Linked DNA regions of Homo sapiens: all the other regions are linked to region 2. The links are contacts of gene promoters, found by promoter capture Hi-C in blood cells and fetal thymus (Javierre and others, 2016). All regions are on one chromosome and are shown on one strand. Each heading gives the region's core, a stretch centred on a gene start or on the middle of the fragment in contact. The rest is flanking DNA. Distances are from core to core; before and after follow the strand shown. Region 1 has its middle 12 kb from the start of GBGT1. Region 2 holds the start of SLC2A6 (solute carrier family 2 member 6). Region 3 holds the start of SARDH (sarcosine dehydrogenase).

Region 1 (3,210 bases), core at 422-2,921, 300 kb before region 2:
GCCAAGGCGTACTCCTTAATGAGAGTTCTTATGAAATGAACCGAACCAAATTAGCCAAGTGAAGGTTCAGACAATATAGGCAGTTCAACAGTGTTAGGGTCCAATTGGTCATTATCCTCGTTTAGAGTATGATAGCGATTAAGGACCATGGTTTGCTGTAAAGTGGCCTGACTTAAACAGTTACTCATTTTCATTGTTACATTGGTAATACAAGTCATAATAACTTGGAAACCTACTAGAAGAATTATAAGGATTAGAAGCCCTTGGAAAACCCAAGCTTGCCATCCACCCTTAGGATGCCTGCAAACCGTTAGTTGCCTATTGTAAACATGTCATGGGCTCCTTTCTCTTGAGAGATGTCTTTAATGTATTTGGTGGCAGTGTCTAAGGAAACAGCAGTATCAGCACCTTTTAAATTAAGCTTCCTGTAATAACAAAATCAGGTAAGAGATAAGTAGTACAACATTCAGTTTTGTTTAACACCAAACCTAGGCTTCCAGCTTGAGCAAAAAGATCTGAGGTTGCACGATGTTCCAGTAAGTGTTTTTGCTGAATTCACGTGTTGTCATCTATCTTTTTTTTTTTTGAGATGGAGTCTCACTCTGTTGCCCAGGCTGGAGTGCAATGGCATTATCTTGGCTCACTGCAACCACCGCCTCCTGGGTTCAAGCGATTCTACTGCCTCAGCCTCCCAAGTAGCTGGGATTACAGGCATGAGCCACCATGCCTGGCTAATTTTTGTATTTTTAGTAGAGATGGGGTTTCACCATGTTGGCCAGGCTGGTCTCAAACTTCTGACCTCAAGAGATCTGCCCGCCTTGGCCTCCCAAATGCCGGGATTACAGGCGTGAGCCACCATGCCCAGCCCTGTCATCTATCTTTCTGAGAGCAGCTTCTACCCATCTGAAACCCTGGGAGGTCTGATTGATTACAAAATCCAAGATTTTTCCCAATTTACAAATTAGCTTTAAATTCCATACAACTGCTATCTCACTACCACCAAGAGTGCACCCCCAGGAATCCCACTGGAATCTTTCCTCAGTAGAAACGAGCTTATCCTCAAATATTTCAAGGCTAGTGCTAATTTCAGTTATTGATCATTTTGGCCTCCAATCATAAGGGCCATCATGAGAATTTTCAGGGGAAGCTATTTGAAAGGCAGGAGCAAGCCAGGCCACATAACAAGAACCCAACCAATGAGGAGGCAGAACAGGATACGCAGACTCTTCACAGACCCAGTATAGACCCTTGGGGATTGGAAAAGAGGGCCACCTAGTTGCATTTGAGCAGAGATCAGTCAGGTTTGTTCGACCACAAATCTGCATACCTCCTGAACAACGTCCAGTGGGAAATTTACTTTTCTGTGGCCCCTTTATAGCATGTTGTAAGGGTATATAACCATATCTAGTAAAAAAGAGACCCTACTGGATTTAATCCAGTTACATTATACAAGCAATCACTTGTATCAACATAAGTAATTCCCAAATCTTGAGTGCGTGATGTCTGGAAGCACAATGTATCTTTTGCTGGCATCACTTGGATTTTTTTTTTTGAGACGAAGTTTCGCTCTTGTTGCCCAGGCTGGAGTGGAGTGTAATGGCACGATCTTGGCTCACTGCAACCTCTGCCTCCCAGGTTCAAGTGATTCTCCTACCTCAGCCTCCCCAGTAGCTGGGATTATAGGCGCCTACCACCATGCCTGGCTAATTTTTGTATTTTTAGTAGAGATGGGGTTTTACCATGTTGGCCAGGCTGGTCTCAAACTCCTGACCTCAGTTGATCCACCTGCCTCAGCCTCCCAAAGTGCTGGGATTACAGACATGAGCCACTGCACCCAGCCTTGGATTGTTTTTTTATATTTGGTAATGATCGACTTATCAATTGAAAAAGTTAGAGTGTTGTTTTTAGTGAGTGTAGGAAGCAAGTAGCAGTGATGTTTAGCATATCAAGAATAACTTTCTGTTCTTCCCTTAGTTTCAGGTAGCTCTCGCTGGGAACGCGGAGGGGCACTGGCACCAGTGGAATCATTTCCTGATTTTTTTTTGGCATTAGCCCACAAACCCAACAATTACTCTGGTTTTGTGCTAGAGCATAAACTTGAGCTAAAGCCATCCACTGATTATGGTGCCATGGGTTTGCCTGTAGGGAAAAGGACAAGATTAGGGCAGAAGATGAGGAAAACAGAAAAACACATAAGGCTTTCCTGATGATAGAGAAGTCTTGGTCCATGATCTTGGGAAAGCTGTCCAAAACTAGGATGCTGTCTGCTTCTGAAGAGAGATTTCCTTGGTCAGCTTTACTTTAAAGTCTCCAACAGGTGTACAGTTCCAGGACTCTGAAGGGGCCCCTTTTTGTTTTTTTGAGACGGAGTCTTGCTCTGTTGCCCAGGCTGGAGTGCAGTGGCGCGATCTCGGCTCACTGCAAGCTCTGCCTCCCGGGTTCACACCATTCTCCTGCCTCAGTCTCCCGAGTAGCTGGTACTACAGGTGCCTGCCACCACGCCCGGCTAATTTTTTTGTATTTTTTAGTAGAGAGGGGGTTTCACCATGTTAGCCAAGATGGTCTCGATCTCCTGACCTTGTGATCCACCCACCTCGGCCTCCCGAAGGGCTGGGATTACAGACGTGAGCCACCACGCCCGGCCAAAAACATGCAAACTATTACAAGAACATACTGATACCCCATTGCGCGTCACAACTAAATTAAGTCCATCTGTAAATGCTCAAATTGTTCATCAGGTGGTGGAAATATATGACCTGAAGTTTTGATTGTTTTTCCAGGATTATGAGTTTGACAAGTCAAACATTGATTATAAACCATTTTAGCAATTTTGGAACAGTCACCCGACCAGTATTTTTTCATAATTTGGATCATTTTGTCTGTTCCATGATGAGCGGTGGAGTGCAGCGTTTTCAACAATGGAAGCTTCAAAGACTCAGGAAGGACCAGGCGGCCGTCTGGGCCCTCCGTGAGTCTGTGCATCACATTAAATTTACATCCTTTTAGATACCAATTTTGCTTTTCCAAATCAGGTGCACTGCACTGTTTACTAAGCAGGTCATCATAAGGAAGTGGGCTCGGCTTAATCCAATGGAGTTCATTCAGATTGCATTTCTTAACAGTTTCAGCACTAGCTGATTTAGCATAAAAATTTGCTAAAGCATTTCCCTGATATTTGGGTTCAGTTCTACAAGTATGAGCTTCAATCTT
Region 2 (3,094 bases), core at 20-2,519:
TTAAGATTATAATTTTAGACTCTGGGACTCTGGGATCTTCCTCTCCATCAGCCCACAATCTGTCCTGCGGACTCTCCTTGCCCCAGCCAGTGCCTCTCCCCACTGACACCTGATACCCTTGCCCCCATCCAGCCAACTGTGGGTGTGGGGACCCGGGGAAGCCTCAGCCCCACCTAGTATAGACCCTGACAGCCACCTCCCCACCTGCTCCTTCCCTCACCCTCTCCACTGGCTTTCAGTTCCTCATTTCAGAGGAATCCTGTAGCTTTACCCCACCCACTAGTGGCCTGGATGGCTGGGGGAGGGGGGACCAGGGCCCTGGAGGGACCCCCAAGGTGGAGAATTTGGGAGGTTCCTAGCTGGAGATAAGGCTCAGCAGGTCCCTCCTTCCTGCACCCACCCTCCTCCAGAGGATGGTCCTTACCCCAAACCAGGATGCCTGGGATTTGGTCAGATGCAGGTCAGGATCCAAGGAGCGCTCCAGGGCTGGGATGACAGGGGATGTGTAGACCAGGGCATACCCAAAGCTGAAATTGCCGAGCACTGCGGCGAAGGTGGCCAGGAACACCCTTTTGTTCTGCAGGGTCCTGGTGATGGTGGCGGACAAAAAGACCAGGGTCTCTGAGTCCCTCCTCCAGGGACCATTGCCTTTTCTGAACCCAGTGGCTGCCCGGCTCAGCGGGCAGTGCTAGGGAGGCCTGGGTCCAAGGCCATTCACGTTCCCAGGGCCTGAGCCCCAGCTCCCCTGGGAAATTCCCAGGCCATTGTTAGCTCATCCGCAGTGGCTGAGCCTCTGGTGCTGGGGCCTTTTCTCCGGAAGAGGAGGCTCTGGTTCTGCCCCCAGGGCGGCGGCTGGAGGCTTGCTGTGTGACCTCAGGCAGAACCCCTGCTCGCTGGGGCCTCAGTCTCACTGTCTGTGGCAGTGGGGGGCTGGGCCCGGTACTCTCGTGGATCGTTCCTTCCCTTAGGGGGACCAGTTCCTTAAATAGGAGTAGCGTGTCTGGGACAGGAGGGAGCCAGATGGCCCCTCGGTGGCGACTAGGTCAGGGGAGGCCCAGGGCGGGAGCCTGCCGCCGGCTGGAGGGAACCAGGGCCACCCCCAGGCCCCACCCGCAGCCCCCAACCTAGCGACTCTCACCCGACCCGCGCCCTGTCCCCTGGCGACGGGGGCGGCTTCTCGGGGAAGGTGTCGTAGTCCGGGCCCTCGGCTCCCAGCAGCGGCTCCTGCATGGCCGGGTCTCTCTCGGGGCGAGCGGAGGGCGCTCAGACTGGAGCAGCCGCCCGGGGCCAGCAGCTCCGAGGGCACCGGCCAGGCTCCGCCCCTTGGCCGCTATTGGCTGTGGGACGGCCCTGCAGAGACACGCCGGCCAATGGGGCGGCCGCAGGCTGTCCTGATGCTCGGATGCGGACCCGGCTTCCCCGGGCGCGGCCGGCACCGCGTGCGCCCCCGAAGGTCACGCCCCAAGACAGGATGGGGGTCCCAGGGCGGAGCCCCTGCTGGATCGTCCGGGGCCCCCGCGGAGCGCCGGAAGCGGCTCACCCGGCCCGGCTCTTGCAGGCGTGACTGCGGCAATGCGCGCAGCCCCTGTCGTACTCGCTCCCGCGGGGTGGAAACCGAGGCCCAGAGAGGCGAAGCCGAGCGCCAGGGTCACAGCGAATGCGCACCTCGCTCCTCCTTACGCTCTAGCCCTCCCCGTCGCGTGGCGTCTCAGGGCCACCTCTGCCCTGGCTCTCCCTGGCACCAGGGAATCGGGGTGTGTCAGGGCAGCAGCGGATGTGCGGGACGAAGGAGGCAGGAGGGGCCGGCGAGGCGCTGTGGGCAGCTCCAGTGGGCGAGGTCTGTATCCTCCACCCCAGGCTCTGGTGGTAGAAATAACCTGAGCTCGTGACACGTAACCCAGGTAGTAAGATAACATTGAAAAATAAGAAAAGCAGAAATGGAAAATTCCCGGGAAGACCGTCCTCAAAAAATCCCACAGCAGTTCCACCTCTCCCTTTGGGCCTTTTCGGGAAGAGGACGGAATCACGCCCTGCTCTGTTGGATGGACGTGCCACACACGCTTTTAAACGGAGCCTTTGTTGCTGAGTATTTGGGTCATTTCCCATTTTAGCTATTAACATGGTAAAGCATTTTTAAAAGTTAGAATTCCCTTTTATTATGATTGAAATACAACCATAATAGAACAATAAAATCACATCCATCTCCCGTCAGCCTGACCTTGATGGCGTTTTAGCCTCTTCCAGTCTTTTCCTCATGTGCCTATTTTGCATATTTGCTATTGGGGCCCCCATTAAACTGTGCAGCCCCTTTACGTCACCGTTTTCTTGCCATCAAGATCATAGGCTTTGGACTCAGGCACACCCTGGTATGGTGATCAGGCTGCACAGTCCTCGTGGCCATATATATACGTATATACATATATATGTGTATGTATTTTTACATATCTATATGTGTATTTTTTTTTTTTTTTTTGAGACGGAGTCTCGCTCTGTTGGCCAGGCTGGAGTGCAGTGGCACGATCTCAGCTTACTGCAACTTCCACCTCCCGAGTTCAAGCGATTCTCCTGCCTCAGCCTCCCAAGTAGCTGGGATTACAGGCATGTGCCACCACGCCCGGCTAATTTTTGTATTTTTAGTGGAGACGGGGTTTCACCATGTTGGCCAGCTTGGTCTTGAACTCCTGACCTTGTGATCCTTCCGCTTCAGCCTCACAAAGTGCTGGGATTACAGGCGTGAGTCACCGCACCCGGCCTTCTCTTTTTTTAAAATGTATTTTTTTTCTTTTAAAATCAACTTTAGGCCAGGTGCAGTGGTGTGTGCCTGTAATCCCAGCATTTAGGAGGCCAAGGTAGGAGAATTGCTTGATGCCAGGAGTCTGACACCAGCCTGGGCAACAAAGTGACCCTGTCTCTACAAAAAGCTAAAAAAGTTGTCCAGGTGTGATGGCAAGTGCCTGTGGCCCCAGCTACTCGGAAGGCAGAGGTGGGAAGATTGCTTGAGCCCAGGAGTTTGAGGCTGCGGTGAGCTGTGATCACACCACAGCACTCCAGCCTGGGTGACAGAGGGAGAGCCTTCTTGAAAAAATAAAATACA
Region 3 (3,137 bases), core at 508-3,007, 260 kb after region 2:
CATGTTGGCCAGGCTGGTCTCGAACTCCTGACCTCAGGTGATCCGCCTGCCTCGGCCTCCCAAAGTGCTGGGATTACAGGCATGAGCCACTGTGCCCAGCCTAAATTCTTTAAACTAAGAAGTTAAGAACGGAGGTCTCACAACAGCCCTCAATGGAAGGGTGGGGTGGTGTCCTGCCCAGTGTGGACCTCCACTGCCCTTTTCTGGGATCTGCAGGAAAAGTGAAAGGGATGTGGCTGTGATCCAAGATGTGAAGTGCTGTGCCACCTACGTCAGTATGAATGACTGATATAATTATCTAAGAAAGTCAGCATCCTTTTTCAAGAGTGGACCATAGCTATGCACGTTCGTTCACTCTCATTGAACACCTATAGACACATGATAATGTCTCTACTTCACAGCGGGGGAGTCTGACACACGGAGAGGCTCCCTGAGGTGACCAGGGTCATAGGGCCTCCATGTGGCAGTGCCAGGGACTCTCTCCTGCCCCCTCTTCTGACCATCCCAGGGGGACTCAGGACCCACTGCCACACTCTGTCCCACCTGAACTGTGGGCACTGCCCAAGCCCTGACGAAGCCCAGAACCCTGTCCTAGGCACAGTGGGGGATGTGAGGGGGATCCCAGCTCTCAGGCTGGTCAGGGCTGCCCCCCATCTCCTGCCCCAGTGCCCCATCCCAAGGGAGGGAGCAGGGAGTCTGATTGCAGCGGCGTAGGGGAGTGAGGAGGTGTTGGAGCTTGTCCTCAGCCTCTCAGCCCTCAGTGTGTCAGCCCGCCTGGCTCCTGCCTGCAGAGGTGGCCCCGGACAAGGAGGCATGCCTCCTGCATGTGTCTGTACATACCTTCAGTCCTTGAAGGTCCACAGTCTTCCAGGAGCCCCCAAAAGTGGTGCCCCACCAGGGGAAAGCCAGCTTGAGTGGCACCGAGGAAGGCCCTCCAAGGCTGAACACCCCCACCCCACCACCCACCACCCACCACGGTGCCGCATGGCACAGCACACCTGGTCAGCTGTGGGCAAAAGCCTCCCTCCTCCTTCCGACTGTGCCCAAAAAGCGACAGCTGCTGGCGCCGGAGGCTGCCACGTGCCCCTTCACCACCTGCCTGGTCAGTCAGGGCTCTTCTGACTGTCAGACTGGGGGCTGGCAGCGGCCCCAGCGGGGACAGCCCAGAGCCCCTCCTGCCTGCCACCTCCCTGGAAACAGCTGCCTCCACATTAACCCACTCTCTTGCCCCCTCCAACTCTGTCTCGTACCTGAGTCAGCTTCCCAGGAGTGAGGGCTGAGGACAGCCCTGGGCTTGGGATCAGACAGATGGGTGGGGGTTTTGTCACAGGACTGGGGCCTCGAGCAACAACTTAACCTCACTGCAAAGCAGAGGACCCAGGAACGCCCTCCTCCTCCCAGGCTCAGGGGGTGGTGGGGGTCAAGCGAGGAGAGCGCCTGGCACCTTCGCCTGGTGAGGGTAGGCAGACTTGTGGGGAGGAGCGGCAGGGGGCGGGGAGGCAGCTGCCCATATGGTGAACCCTGGTCCTGCTCATGCAGCTGGATGGTCCCTGCAGCCAGAGGCAGAGGGAGATCCCAGCCAGATCTGACCAGGCCCAGCCCCGCCCACATAGGGGAGGCCCCAGCCTCGTCCCTCCCTGGGGGTGTACCTCCAAGTACCTCTTGTCAGCTGCAGTGCCCCTCGGCCCTAAGAGTGCTTGGCCCAGCAGAGGTGCCTTCACCTTCTTGCTTCCCAAGCAGTGGCCTGGCCGGAACTCCAGGCCTCCCCCGCCCCCCACCCTCGCTGCCAGCCCCATGTCTCCGCCCAGGATCTGGGCGGAGCGTACCGCCCACCACTGCGGCTTCTAGGCCAGCTTAGTTGGGGCTTCTAGGCCAGCCCTGTGGGCAGCTCCCTCTGAGGGCGGCAGAGCAGGGTTGTGAACCCCATGCCCCATTACCCGTAGGCGACCTGGCAGTCACCCTTCCGCTCCAACCCTCATTTCCTCGTCTCTGAAACAGGCGCCTCAGGGTTGCTGCAGTAGACCCAGGCACCACCTGCCTGCTGGAGCCGCCCGAGCTCCCCGCGCCCAGAAGGAGCTATGCACAGGCAGGGTGGGCAGGAAAGGTGGGGTCAGCAGCAGCTTGGGCCAGGGGCCCGTCCACTGCAGGGAGGCTCCTTTGGTGAGGTCATCTCAGCACATGCCCCAGTTTGCTCACCCCCAGGGACAGGATGCTCACTGCCTTCAGAGGCGAGTGAGAAGGCCTGGGTCAGCTTCCCAGGGACAGGGTCTCCTGGTCTGTCTGCGTCCTGCTTTCCCGAGCTCCCAGACCCCTCTGGTGTTTGGGGAGATGCCCCCAAGCCACTGGCTACTGCACAGCACGTAGCCCCCAGGGCAGGGATTCCAGCCTCCATTGACTGTTGGGGACAGCAGTGCCCAGGGAGGGGGCCACACAGCAAGCTGGTGGAGGAGGCAGACCGGATGCTGCAGCCTGACTCTGGGCTGGGGCAAGTTACCCCTTCCCAGACAGAAGTAGACACCCAGAGGAGGGGTGTGGAGGAAACCCAGAAAGAATACACCTCTGGATGCCCAAAGAATCAGAACAGGTGCTGATGGAAAGTCACATCTCCTCCTCGCGCTGGATCAAAGACGGGGCATTTCAATGGCAGTCTGTTAATATTGTAATGATGCCAGCTGCCAATACCGGAAGCGATCGTATAGTAAACTGCTGTAATTAATACCAATCAAATCATTGTGTTCTTATTCACACCGAGGATGTCCGACTGTCTTGTTGCCAGCTTGTCTATCCTCTACATTTACTGAATGCCCAATGTGTACAAAGCACTGCTGGGAAACCTATAGTGACATCTAAGACCCAGCCCCTGCCCTCGAGGGGCTCAGGGTCCACGAAGCAGACAGATCCAGGGAGAGACACGACACCACAAGGCTGGCTTCCTTCCAGCAGGGAATCCAGGAGGACCTCTTAGAGGAGGGGGCCTGGGCTCTGGGCCTGACCACGTGCTGACACCATTCTCAGTCCCTGCCTCAAAGGCAAAGGGCCCACTGGCTTAGGCCCCTGGCTGCCCAGTGGAAAGCTGGCCCCGCCAGTTTGAGGCTTACCTGGGGTGGTGTGGGGGTCCTGGGGCAGAGGACCTCCTC

The links. The method cuts DNA at HindIII sites, captures the fragments that hold promoters and counts their contacts. A CHiCAGO score of 5 or more calls a contact.
Region 1: a contact is called between a fragment that was not itself captured here and the fragment with the promoter of SLC2A6 in region 2, in 1 of 17 cell types (total CD8 T cells). The highest score is 6.9, in total CD8 T cells.
Region 3: a contact is called between the fragment with the promoter of SARDH here and the fragment with the promoter of SLC2A6 in region 2, in 1 of 17 cell types (non-activated CD4 T cells). The highest score is 5.4, in non-activated CD4 T cells.

What each region holds. Positions count from the first base shown.
Region 1 is chr9:133,174,290-133,177,499 of GRCh38, forward strand. No RefSeq gene overlaps it. Among named protein-coding and RNA genes, the nearest start is that of GBGT1, 12 kb to the left of the region's middle. The HindIII fragment of the contact is 2,504 bases long and covers 420-2,923 here.
Region 2 is chr9:133,477,830-133,480,923 of GRCh38, forward strand. SLC2A6 (solute carrier family 2 member 6) reads right to left here and starts at 1,270. Exons shown (of 10, transcript NM_017585.4): 1 at 1,139-1,270; 2 at 425-587. The coding sequence starts at 1,230. RefSeq lists enhancers at 800-859, 1,280-1,781 and a silencer at 1,020-1,669. The HindIII fragment of the contact is 7,664 bases long and covers 1-3,094 here.
Region 3 is chr9:133,736,595-133,739,731 of GRCh38, forward strand. SARDH (sarcosine dehydrogenase) reads right to left here and starts at 1,758. Exons shown (of 21, transcript NM_001134707.2): 1 at 1,660-1,758. The HindIII fragment of the contact is 9,698 bases long and covers 1-3,137 here.